3 separate regions of the Homo sapiens genome follow, and regions 2 and 3 are each linked to region 1. The links are contacts of gene promoters, found by promoter capture Hi-C in blood cells and fetal thymus (Javierre and others, 2016). All regions are on one chromosome and are shown on one strand. Each heading gives the region's core, a stretch centred on a gene start or on the middle of the fragment in contact. The rest is flanking DNA. Distances are from core to core; before and after follow the strand shown.

The links. The method cuts DNA at HindIII sites, captures the fragments that hold promoters and counts their contacts. A CHiCAGO score of 5 or more calls a contact.
Region 2: a contact is called between a fragment that was not itself captured here and the fragment with the promoter of GRID2 in region 1, in 1 of 17 cell types (naive CD4 T cells). The highest score is 17.2, in naive CD4 T cells.
Region 3: a fragment that was not itself captured here is called in contact with the fragment with the promoter of GRID2 in region 1 in 1 of 17 cell types (naive CD4 T cells); the score reaches 6.4 in naive CD4 T cells.

Annotation. Positions count from the first base shown.
Region 1 is chr4:92,301,841-92,306,112 of GRCh38, reverse strand. GRID2 (glutamate ionotropic receptor delta type subunit 2) reads right to left here and starts at 2,147. Exons shown (of 16, transcript NM_001510.4): 1 at 1,369-2,147. The coding sequence starts at 1,456. RefSeq lists a silencer at 321-615. The HindIII fragment of the contact is 7,809 bases long and covers 1-2,527 here.
Region 2 is chr4:91,450,652-91,454,923 of GRCh38, reverse strand. All of the region lies in intron 10 of CCSER1 (coiled-coil serine rich protein 1), which reads right to left. Among named protein-coding and RNA genes, the nearest start is that of LNCPRESS2, 820 kb to the left of the region's middle. The HindIII fragment of the contact is 9,472 bases long and covers 1-4,272 here.
Region 3 is chr4:91,470,890-91,475,161 of GRCh38, reverse strand. All of the region lies in intron 10 of CCSER1 (coiled-coil serine rich protein 1), which reads right to left. Among named protein-coding and RNA genes, the nearest start is that of LNCPRESS2, 800 kb to the left of the region's middle. The HindIII fragment of the contact is 1,001 bases long and covers 1,891-2,891 here.

The DNA of each region.
Region 1 (4,272 bases), core at 898-3,397:
AGAAATCCCTCGCTTGGGCGGGCACAATCGCCACCTGCAGCAGATTCCCCTACCAGGAGTATGTGTACGTGCGTGTGTGTATGTGTATGCGTGTTGTGCGGTGGAGAAGCAGGGGTACAGAAAGGGGAGAAGCTGTGACCCATCTGTCGCCTCAATTTGCAGAACACCAAGCCATGCGTACAGATAAAAGTCCTGTGCCCAGAAAAATTCCCCCAAAGGGACCTCTCTGCAGCCCAGCAAAGAAACCTTGCTGGCTCGGTAAGCGAATTTCCGAAAAAGAAATCGTCGCATTAACGCAGAAAAGGCTGCAAGAGCCTGTCTCCCGCTCAGCTCTCACGGATTAGCAAGTGAGTAGAGTTGGAGCCTGAAGCTGCGAGCGCTGTGCATGATAATGACGCGCAGCCCCCCGCCCGCCCCTGCTCGCCGCGGCCAGTCCCGGCCCGTCTGGTTGCCAATAGGTGGGGCCACCAGCATCTCGGAGCCCGCTCGGCAGTCCTTCTCAGAGTCGCGGCCCGCAGTAGTCCCGGCGCCTTCGCTGTCTGCCTTGCGCGGCTACTCGGAGTTGACTGCGAGGCGAGGCGAGGCGAGGCAAGGCGGATATCTGCTAAGCAGACCTCGGGAGCAGCCTGCGCGCATTCGCTTCCCCGCGTTTCCCAAGCGCCCCGGGGTCAGTTTCGCCGCCGCGCCAGGCCCCGGGAGCGTGTCCGAGGAGGCGAGGCACGCGACAATCAGTCCTTGGCGACACTGCCGCCAGCCCCTCCTGCCACCGTCTCAAAGACTACACGCAAGGATCATAAAGCCAAGAAGATGTGAGAAGAGAGGGTGGCTGGGGGCGCATCCGGCACCCCCGTCACCATCGCACTAAGCTGCGGCGAACTCAGCCGGCTCACGTTGCAAAACCACCTGTTCGATCCGAAGGGAGCTCCCCCTACCCCCCAGCCCAGTTCTTTTCATCTCACAGGTGACAGCTTCTCTGCTCCCCCAAAGATAAATTTTTAAATGGAGCAAATGTACATCCGGGAAAAAAAATATGGAAGATAAGAGTCAATTAAACTCCCTTTCCCCACACACTTAGAATCCCCCTGCAGTTCCCAGCACACACTCACACTCAGGTCAACTCGAGACCCCCACGCATCCAGCCACATTCCACGAATCACTGCAAAACAACAGCACAAGTCAGTCGAGGTTCGAGCATCCACATCCTTTCAGAAAACTGAGCAAGTGTGAGGGAAGGGTAGCGGGAAGGGGCAATGAACTGAAGCCACCTCCAACAAGACACACAGAGACCGGAGAGGGGGAAAGCGAAGGGGAAACATTTGAGAACTGAAACGGTAAAAGTAACCACGAGCTGCACCAACACTTTCTTACCGATGTGAATGATCGAATCCGCATTCGCCGAGTCCCAGGTTCGAGACCACCAGACGGACAAAACCAAGAGAAAGGGGAAAACTTCCATCTCCTCCTATGCCGATTCTCTTGGAGGATGGATTTTCTTCCAATTTTTTTTTTTTCAAACAGTCCAAAGAGTTTGAGGTCACGGTGGAGTTTAGCGCAGCTTTTTCTTTTTTTCTAAATTCCTATTGCCAGAGCAAAGCCTTTTATCGTCGCCGAGAAAGGCAGAAGGGAATGACAGAAAGAGCCCAGCCTGAGGAAACCTCCTTCGCAAAGCCGTGTCACTTGGAGGGGAATTTTGGCATCGCCAGAGTTGTTTGCAGTTTGGCTTTTGAAAAATATATCCAGCCTCTACTGCTCTTGGGCAGGGGGAGAGGCTGGGGCTCAGATCAGACCCATCGCTGCGCGGGGGCCGCGGGTCTCCGGTCCCAGCTCCGCTGCAACTTCCAACACCCCCCTCACGCCGGATGTGCCCCCTTCCCCGCACCCTCTCGGACCAAAAAAGACCCCCGCCCCCGCCCCTACAGCCCGCAGAGAATCACTGGTCTTCGCTGCCAGAATCTAAGTGGAAAGGAAAGATTAGGAGATTCCAAACGGAGCAGCCAGATTCCACCAGGGAGGGGGGAAAAAAGCCCTCTCCAAGAGGGGTAGAAAAAGTGAACTTCAAGGTAATGCAGATAGTAATGCAGAGAAAATTCCCTTTCTGCGTGAGGCGCGGAACGCAGCTTGGCGAGGCGGGCCCGGGGAGCCGGTTTGCTGGGGCGCGGTGGCGGGGGGGTTGCGCCGGGCGCGAGCAGCGGGGCCGGGCCAGAGGAGGGAAGCCGCCGCAGGCTGCAGGATGCTTTTGGAGCGTTTCGCCTGGCGGGATGCAGGAAGCAAGGAGCGAGCCTGGCAGCTTCAGCACCAGCCCCACGTTGCCTAGAAATGGATCACCTAGGAGAAGGAGCGAGCCTGCGAGAGAGCGGTGCTGTCAGGCGGAGAGAGGGGGAAACCAAGAGAGGAAGAGCTTCTCTCTAATAACCACCTCCTCCCCCTATCTGCAATACAAGGGAGAAACAAAATAGTGCTCTCATTTCCCATGGAATCTTCAACCGGGACTGAGAAAAAGGCAGGACTGTAAAAAGACATTGAAGCTTTTTTTTTCCTTTCTTTATTTTACGAGGTTAAATGCAACCTAAAAAAGCCACCCCACTTATTTAACCTTGCTATTCTCTAACAGGTATCAGACTTTTTCTAGTCTTTGCCTGGAATTAGTCACATTGGTTGAAAACAAATTAGGGACACCTGGTCACTTAGGGAAATACAGACCTAGAAAGCTTTTAATGAGATTTCAATTATAAAGTTATAAAAAGGAGAGAACGTGCTAATTACCTTTTATACAATGATTTTTTTTTTCTGTCTCCAGTGTATTTTTTAGGCAATCAGGATAGAGAAAGGTTCCTGAAATCCTTTCTATTGATAGAAATTCTTCTCTATCAGGATAGAAAAGATCTTGAAATTAAAATAAAAAAGCAGAATAATTAAATAAAACAGAAAAATTTTTCATAAACATTTGGTCAAAATATTTCATTGAGTAGCTTAATAACCTATGTAGATAAATTCCGAATGAGGAAGTTGGGTACTCTCTTCCATGGAAAAAGCTGAGGAAGTCCTGAATGACAGCCTCTCAGTCTCCAGTGAAAGGATTTTCTGCAAGCTTATTCCTTAAGATAAAATCCTGATCATTGTGACTTCTTTTCTTATAATGATTGACTTATGTCAATCTGGCCTCATTGCAAACTGAAGATTTGTTAACACAATCGAGTGACTAGTCGAGGTCAGGTATTAATGTCATAATATTGTCTCAGTTATAATTGGAATTCTTTAGGAATGTTGGATGTGTGGATGTCAAGCTCATTACACAACCTTTCAAAGCCTTACCTCCAAGTTTGGCAAACCTCTTTTCCTCCCGTTCCCTCACTTGAGCCCTTCTCTCTAGCCTTCTGAATTGGGTTACTATTTTTCCAGACACAGTTGTACATTCTCACTTCTGGCTGTTTTCATTCATCTTGTACACTTTTTCCTGAACATTCCAGAAAATGTTTTGCTGCCATATTTTTACTTATGTTAATATTTCTGCTTGGAAAGCACGTATTTGTCCTCCCAACCACTCTCCTTCACCATCTCAAGGGCTAGTTCAAATTCCTTTTGCCCATGAAGTAGTGTCCAGTCCTTTAATGTGGAATAAATCCATCTATCTTCTATGCTGTCGTAACACACCCTATTTTGTATTAGAGTTAGACAGAACTACTACTAAGTTAGATCATAAATGCCTTGAGAGTGAAAACCAAAGCTCATTCACATTTTATTCAACACAGCATTTTACAGAGAACCCCTTTGTTGACTTGAATTTCATCACTTCCTTCTGAATCTGGAACAAACCAGTGCTTCCAAGAAGCATTCACTGATTAATTACTCTCAATTTTGATCATTCTCTTATCTTTTGTTTCCATTAGTAGACATTGACTCAATATTGATTATATTAATGTTGGTGTTAATGTCATTTTACTTTATAAAGTGTTTTGATGCAATTCCATAGATTATACTTTGCTTATTCAGATAATGAATTGAAAGAAGAGATGCACTCCCCATAGCTTCCTTCAAATATTATTTACAGTGACATTCTAAAAATTGGTAAGTCATTATGTATTCTATCAAGAAAAATTATAACCATTTAACATGGAAAGAACACCATGATATCTTAGAATAAGATAACTAGGAAGAACTTCAGAGCATTAACTAGTCCAGTCCTGGCTAATGAGTATCTGTCCTGGAGAAAGTCAAATATTGTATAGTCATATTCATACTATTTCCCCTCTTGGAAATGTTTTAGTGTACTGT
Region 2 (4,272 bases), core at 604-3,103, 850 kb after region 1:
ACTGGTGACAAATATAACTGTGAACATTTCAAAATCGAGATGCTAAAAGGGTTAGAACAAGGGAATTTTCTGTGTCTACTATGGCTAAGATTTCATCAGCTTCTCGGGGAGTCGATTTTGGGAAATTAACACCAGACAGAACACCTTAATTAGATGTTGTTAGTTGACACATATATAAATATACTTAGATAGACTCTTGAATAAACTGTTACAGTGCCAACTTAGTAATTTACAATTAATAGCTTCCTTTTAAAAAATTAAATAAGATCCTGAGTTAACAAGCTGTTTCAGACATTATAATAGGCTGAATAAAATGTCCCCTCAAAATATCCAGAACTTAATCCCTAACACCTGTAAATGTTAACTTTTTGGCAAAAGGAAGTTTGCCAAAAAGATTAGATTAAGTTAAAGATCCAGAGATGGGGAGATTATCCTGGATTATCCAGGTGGGTCCTAAATGTAATCTGTGTGTGTCCTTATAAGTAGAAGGTGGAGGGAAATTTGACCGCAGAGGCAGAAAACAATGTGACTACTAAATAAAAATGAGATACTGCTGGCTTTAAAGATGGGGGAAGGGGTCACGAGCACAAAATGCAAAGAATGCAGATCTAGGAGCTGGAGAAGCCAAGGGAACTGATTCTCTCCTCAGAGCCTTTGTAGGGCGACCAGCCCTGCAGTCATACTGATTTTTCCCCAATGAAACTGATTTCAGACTTCTGATTTCCAGAACTGTAAGAGAATAAACGTGTATTGTTTTAAGCCAGAAAGTGTGTGACAATGTTTTACAACAGCCATAGAAAACCAATGCAAACACTATTAAAAATAGTTCCATGTTCTTGATTACCTCTGAACGTTAAACCATGTATATGAAAGTTCTGGAGCTCATAGATGTCAGGTTAAGAAACACTTAATATAGAATGCTGTTCTAGTGATATTTATTCCTGTTGACATCTGTGAGACACTGTAAACATACCTCATTACAATACTAGACACAAAGAATGTGCTCATTAATTATTTGATTATTTTCTTCCATTCACACATCCACTTGTGTATCCAGGAGTTATTCCTTTCATAAATGGCCTATCACCAGATGAAAATATGTGATATAATGATAAAGCCACATATATTTTCCTTTATATAATTTCTTCTGTTTCTTCCAAGCCTAGTATAGACTCACCTCACTATGCTAGAAAATCAGCTATAGATTCAGCTAAGATATAGAACACCTGCCAGATATGCTTGGGTTCTTCGGAGGATATTGCTGAGCAGGTAGGCAAAGGTGAAGTAGTGACTGCAATTTATCGGGAATAGATAGAAAACTCAGTACACATCATTGATTTTACATGCTCCAAAGGCTTAGGTTTAAAAGTCAGTATGCCTGGCAAGGAAGAGGTGGCAAGACATTTAAATGGATGTAAAATTTTCTTTAGGAGAAAAGTGCTCTGGAAAAAGTAAACATTTGTAACAGAGAAATAAAAAGGGGCCACTCAATTTCACAGGAAGCAGTCTTGAGAGACCCTCTGTGGCCTGAGATACAAATGACCTGGCTGACGGGAGAATTCAAAATACAATGGGGCAAAACAAATCACCTATAAAATGAACATGGTGACTTTCTCAAGCAGACAGTGTTATAAGTTTGATTGACTTGTTTCTGCCTTTCCTAATTTGCAGAACACTAATTTCACCAAGAAAAGACATAAAACTCCAAATGCTAGAAAGTATAAGGATAGTTATTTACAAAATTTACAGAATCACCATGAACTACTACCAAACAAAACTCTAAATGACCAAATGATAATGTATAAATCATAACCTATAGTGGGCTCAAATCCCTTACTTTGCTAGTTAAATAAATTAGACAATTTGAAACCCAGTGAAGTGACAGGTAATAAAATGAGGTAACTTCATTTAAAAGAGAGTAATACAAATATTTCTCAAAATATAGAGTATACTTGATATGCGAAGTCTTGAGGATTATTTGAACAATGAAATCTTTACTGCCATTCGGCAACAGTTACCAAGGTTTAGTGATCTTATTTTCCATAACTAAGGACAATGTAAGGCAGAGATTTCATTTGCAGGAAAATGAGCTAGAAAAAAATCTTATTAGGAATGCTCTTCAGCTTCAACTGCAACCAAAGAGCTCAACAGTGCTTGTCAAGAACAAAGTGAGGTCTCCAGTCTTTATTAGCTTTACAGGTCAAACATTGAACTTGCTGTGACTAAGAAATTAAGGAATTCATTCAGTTGTTTTAAGATGTATGAATTTCATTTTCCATCTTTAGCTTCTATAGTATCTCAGCACATTTGGAAGACAATGTGCAGTTATTTACCCTTTTCTGTTATCACTTTGGCTGTATCATTTCTGGAAATGTTCTCAAAGGAGTGACAAAGACATACATTTAGATTTGCTTGACATATGTGCTTTGCCAGTCAACACCAATATGAGTGTTTTTTAGTATTTCTGGTACTCTACAAATGACAAGTAGTGTACCCAATACAAATTAGCCTTATTAAGACAAAACCACATAAAAGGCAATGCTTACCTGCCATTGCCTCTGACTCTTACAGTCACGTGGAGTCCATGGAGTTCAGAAAATTTTGTAAAATGTTTTCAAAAGGCTTGAGTTACAAGTTCAAATTATTTCACAGGCTAGGTTCATGGGATCTGTGACAAGATGATGATATGCTCTACTTGAAGACATTTAAATTTAACTTTAATTGTACTGGCAAAAGAGAGGATGTCTGTGTGTCAATTTTGCCCTATGACTATGGATTATCATTTCTGAGACTCCTGCCATAGAAGTTACTTTCCAGGATTTGTTGAAAACATCTAAGCCTACACTTCATAATGAGATGTAAATACTTACTATCCAGACATCATAGTGTATATAGAGCATGTTCTGATGCAAACCCTTAAAAATGAAATAGAGATAAGTCTTCAGGAACACAACTAAGATATTGTTGGCCCAGTCCAGAGTACCTTTTTGGATCACATTGGACCAGCTCAACCCAGGCTAATCAGAAATGTTTACTTCTCGATAATGGTAATGCTTATTACTAATACTTAATATGAAACTGGGACTTTGCATTTTTACTTAAATTACTTACTACTAAAGTTTTATTTTTAAATTCTATAATATTTTATTCTACAGTGTCTAATCTGCTATTAATTCCACCCAAGTATTTTTTTATCTCAAACATTGTATTTTTCAGCTTTAGAAATTAAATTTGGGTGCATATTGTATGTTACATGCAGAATTTTTCAACATGCTCATGATTTCCTCCTTCTTTTTGGTTATTTGGAGAATACAGTGGCTCTTTTAATGCTCTTGTTTGCTTATTCTATTATTTGTCATTTCTGGATGTTTCTATTGATTGGTTATTCTCCTTATTATTATTCCTGGTCTTCTACTTCTTTGAATGTTCAACAATTTTTTATTGAAGTGTGTCTGGGTGCTGGACTTTTTTCTTTAAGAGAGTAATCCTTTAAATATTTTTCAAATTTACTTTAGTTTGCAACTAAGCTAGTTGGAAATAGTATGATGCTTTTAAAATGAGCTTTTAAAATTCATTAGGCCCATAGCAGCCTTTACTTCTAGGACTAATTTGGTCCCATGCCACAGTCTTAATGTTTGAAGCCCTTAAATTTTCATATGTTGAAATTATAACCCCCAAGGTAATGGTATCAGGAGGTGGGATGTTTTGGAAGCTGATTAATTAGGTCATGAGCATAAGGCCTCATGAATGGGATTTTTGATTTTATAAAGTAAGCCCAAACAAGCTGGGGTTCCCCTTTTCTTCTATGTGAGGATACAGCTAGAAGGTACCATCTTTGAACTAGAAAACTCACATTCACCGGACACTGAATCTGCCAGTGCTTTGATTTTGGCTTCCCAGCCTCCAGAAATGTGAGAAACAAATTCTGTTGTTCATAGGTCACTCAGTCTATTGTATTTCTTATAGTATCCCTAACAGACTAAGAAATGACCCTTTTGCCTGATGTTTCATGTATTACAACTTTTTTCCCATCCTGGCTTTTTGGATTGTGAATTACTCCTAGCCCTGTCTGAGCTCTGATAATTGTGTCACCCATTTCTTTCCCATGACATTTTTTTAGCATTGAGTAGTTTCTCACAGAAATGCTGATTAGTACCGAACTGAAGACCGGAGTGAAGTCCTCAGCAGACCTCTGAGCTCTCTTGTGCAATTCTCTCATCTCACTTGCACTGCCTCATCAATTACAGCCACCTTAACTAACTCCCCAAATAC
Region 3 (4,272 bases), core at 1,142-3,641, 830 kb after region 1:
AAACATAGTCACTTACAAAGGAATGACAATTGTCCTGGACAACAAAATTCTCATCAGCAGCAATGTGTAACAGTAGAGACTCTATGATTCATAGTTTCTTATATGAGACTGTCTCACCTTCCTTCCAACATCAACTTCCACCAAAAAAAGTGACCCTAACCCACCTTTATTACCCAATGCTCAAAATTAGCTACATGTTATACAAAATTTATAAATAAATAAACATGCAATGATAAATACACAAGGATAAAACTGAAGGTGCAGTTTTACACTGAGTCATGTTATTACATTCTACTTTTTATCCCTCAAATTTGGAAGGCAATGTGTGTGTGTGTGTGTGTGTGTGTGTATATATATATATATATATATATATACACAAATATATATATATATACACACACATGTGTGTGTGTGTGTGCATGTATGTATACATGTGTGCCTAAATTTAGCCACAAGAAGACTGAGAGAAGAAAAGGATGCTGTGAAGAAACTCCCCAAAATGGAGAGTGGGTTCATAGATTGCAACATATCCCATCATGAGGCAGCCTGATGTGGTAAAATGTAAATGAGAACTACTATCAAATCTTGGTTTGCGACTTGTATTCCTCATTGGCATTAGTCTTCCATTTAAAAAATTGATGTAATCATTATCCCAAAGAATTTTGTTTTAAGAATAGAATAGAATGATTTGAATTAAAAAGATTTATCAACTGTAAAATTCTATATCCATATCAGAATAAGATATTATACATATTTATTAAATGTGTGATTATATATGTAATTATATAATTGTAACACAATATAAGAAATAAAAATTTATTATCCATTATTAATTCATTTTTATTTCCTAGTCTGGATGTTTAAATTATTTTAAACTGTTATACAAAGATTTTTATCCATTTTGTGGTGTTATATAGGGAATAATGAAAACACTTATGTTACATACAAAGGTTTTGTTTTTCTTACTGTGAATTGAATCTTAATCCCACCCAGTGTTTAACTTCTGATCCCAGTTTTACTGTGTAAAAATCACCAAAATTTTGATGAGGCTAGTCAAGGAAATTAGATAGAACATGCAAAATACAGCAATAGAGCATTTGTTACTCATGACTCTGAAAATCTAGAACATCGAAGAAACTTAAAGAATACACAACACTACTTTTAACATTAATATATGAATTATATTCTCGAAAAATGATTCGGGAAGTTAATTTGAGGGAATAATACTTGTTTTTCAGAATAGTCTCTTTGAGGTTAACAAAGAAACAGACACTACAGAGTTGATTAAAATATACTTAGAAGATGTGGCCAAGCCTGGATGCCTAGTCAGCTATCTCAGCATAAGATCCACATATGAAATAAAACCAGGCAAATGAGATAACAGGCCCATAGTTTCTGAGTCTCATGCTAATAGTAAAAATAATAGCCATGATTTTCTGAGTGCTGACAGTATGCCAGGTGTGGGCTAGGCTCTTCAACACTCTTTTAATTTTTCCTCACAACAAACCTAAGAAGTATATATCATCATCTTAATTTTATAAATAAGAAAACTGAAATCAAAATATTAACTAAATTGTCTGAGATAAAAGAGCTAGCTAGGGTTGTGATTTTAATCTAAGTCTGTTGAATCCAAAAACCCTGTTCTTCCAGGGTCCTTCTAAAACATGGTCCTTCTAAAACACCCCTGTGACTAAGAAATCCCAGACCAAATGAGGTACGAACCCACAATCTCTGACTAACGAGACCAGTACTTGATCTCTGTTCTTTTGTGATTTCTACTGTGGATGACTTAAAAGGGAATACTTTATGAGAAATGATGTCAACTGTGCAAAGAGCTGCTTCATGGCATCACCAGGTTTTATGTTCCTTTGTATGCCCTACTCAGAAGCTTCCACAATGAAAATTACTTTCTGAAAGCATATGGACTTTTATGTTATCTTTTTCCACTAGTTAAAAATGTTTATGATGAACAGTAACTTTCCTTACATTCCAAGTTTGCTCATCTCAAGGAGAAGCTCTGCAGACTTTGTCTGGAGTTGGCTGAGCAAAGGATTATGTTCCCCCTAATACCATGTAATACTGGGCATTGGCGGAACACACAGAATATGAAATATCATTTGGAATTTGGAGTTGGTAGTAACCACAACTTAACCAGGGATAACACAGATCACAGACTGTCATAGGAAAAACGAGAATATCAGGAAAGGCATTCATCAGTAATCTACCTATCTGCTCCTTTGACAGTTCTTGCTGACCATTATGTGATATAAACTGTTATGATGATGGATAAAGAGGACAGAACAGTGTCCAGAGGAAATAATTTGCAGCTAAAGTATCCATCTAATGATTTTTTATGAGAGTCTCCTGACACACTATTGTTAAGGCTTGTCATAAGGTATGACCTGTGATACTGCTAACATCTCCTAAGATTCTGTCTCTATATTATTCAAGGGTCCCAAAGAGCTGCAAAAGAGCCAGTCGAAGAGATTGTGCCTATGAAACTGTCTTGGTACTAGTAACAAATATTACAATCTCAAGATATCAGTGGTTATTATAGAGAAAGATTTTCACCCAGACACAGAATGTGTCATTTACTAACTATGAGCAAAATAAAACAATTCAGATTTTATTTTACATCTACAAGTAGCTTTTGGAAAGATAATATCATGTGGTATGAAAATGCTTGCATACTTCTCAGTCCAAAAAGAAAGGATTGGGGTTTACTATTGATTGATACGATGGGAAAAAAACGTAAAATCTTTACCAAGTAACACTACAGACTCAAGTAAGAACATTTGAGACTCTTGAGTTCCTTTTATTCATGTTAATATGAATTCCAGCCAAGACATTTTAGTGACAATTTTAATTGTTTTACAACTGTCTTGGAAGCTTGTCATATTGCAGCACTTAGAGATGCTATCATAACAGCCTGTCTCAAGAAAACTTCAGCGAAGCCCTAAAATGAAAGCTCACCAGTTGGCAAAGTCACAAATTGATAAAGTACAAGTGAATCGGAAATTCACTAGGTAAATAAAAGCTCTAAGTCATTTAAAAAAACAATGAAAAACAGGTCACCTCTTTTCATGTGTGCCAAGTGAATTCTAAAATGAGACCTAATGATTTTTTTTACTAATAACTTAGTTAAATAAAATCTTTAGTTTTTTTCTTTTTTTTCTTTTTTTTTTTTTTTTTGAGATGGAGTGTCGCTCTGTCGCCCAGACTGGAGTGCAGTGGCACGATCTCAGCTCACTGCAAGCTCTGCCTCCCGGGTTCACGCCATTCTCCTGCCTCAGTCTCATGAGTAGCTAGGACTACAGGCGCCCGCCACTATGCCCGGCTACTTTTTTTGTATTTTTAGTAGAGACAAGGTTTCACTGTATTAGCCAGGATGGTCTTGATCTCCTTCTTTAGATGTTTTTACAGCAACATGGCAAAAATTTATCCTTATGCAACACACACAAAAAATTATAACATCCTACAGGCAAAGGCTTAATGCTGTAGGTACCTCTGAAATCCTCCTCAGTCAGTCTGAAGGGAAAAGAATATCACCACCAAGTGCTGTCAGATCTAGTGAGAGAGCTGTTTACTACATGCAGCAAAACAAGCAGACCGTGTCTCAGGGGAGTGCGTCGTCACGGCTTTGTTAATAGCCTATCCATATTACCTCATGACAACCGTGAGAGTAGCACATCCAGATCCATCCAGCGCGGCTGGGTCACGGTGAACCTGAATGATCTCATCTCCTAGGTGTAGGTCTGACTGTTTCAGCCATCTGTGCACACAGTCTGGGTCCAGCAATTCATTTGGGTAGATTACACTCATGGTAAAGTTACTGGATAGGGTTTCCACAGCATAGTATTTTCCATAGCATAGTGTTTTCTCCTAATTTCTCCATAGTGTTCTTATCCTTCAAATTCAATGATGAGGCTACTGAAAGTCTTCTCTGATGCATTACATCTTAACATTCACCCCTAAAACCTTATATTTTGGCCCAATTAGATGCATGATTATCTCTGAAGCAAATATTGTTGAACTGGACAAAATATTAAAATAAAGATACGATTAGCCCATGGCACTGTAGATGTCATTTCAGCACTAGTTATATAAGTAGGCTTTTTGCATCTACAGATTTAACAGTCGGACTTTCAATCTGAAAGTCCATGAAGTTAATTTGAAATTTTCCAGAGACACACATTTGCATCATATACATTAGAATATGCAGGAATGAGTTTCATAGCTTATGAATGAGCAAAGCAAATGGATTGCTATGAA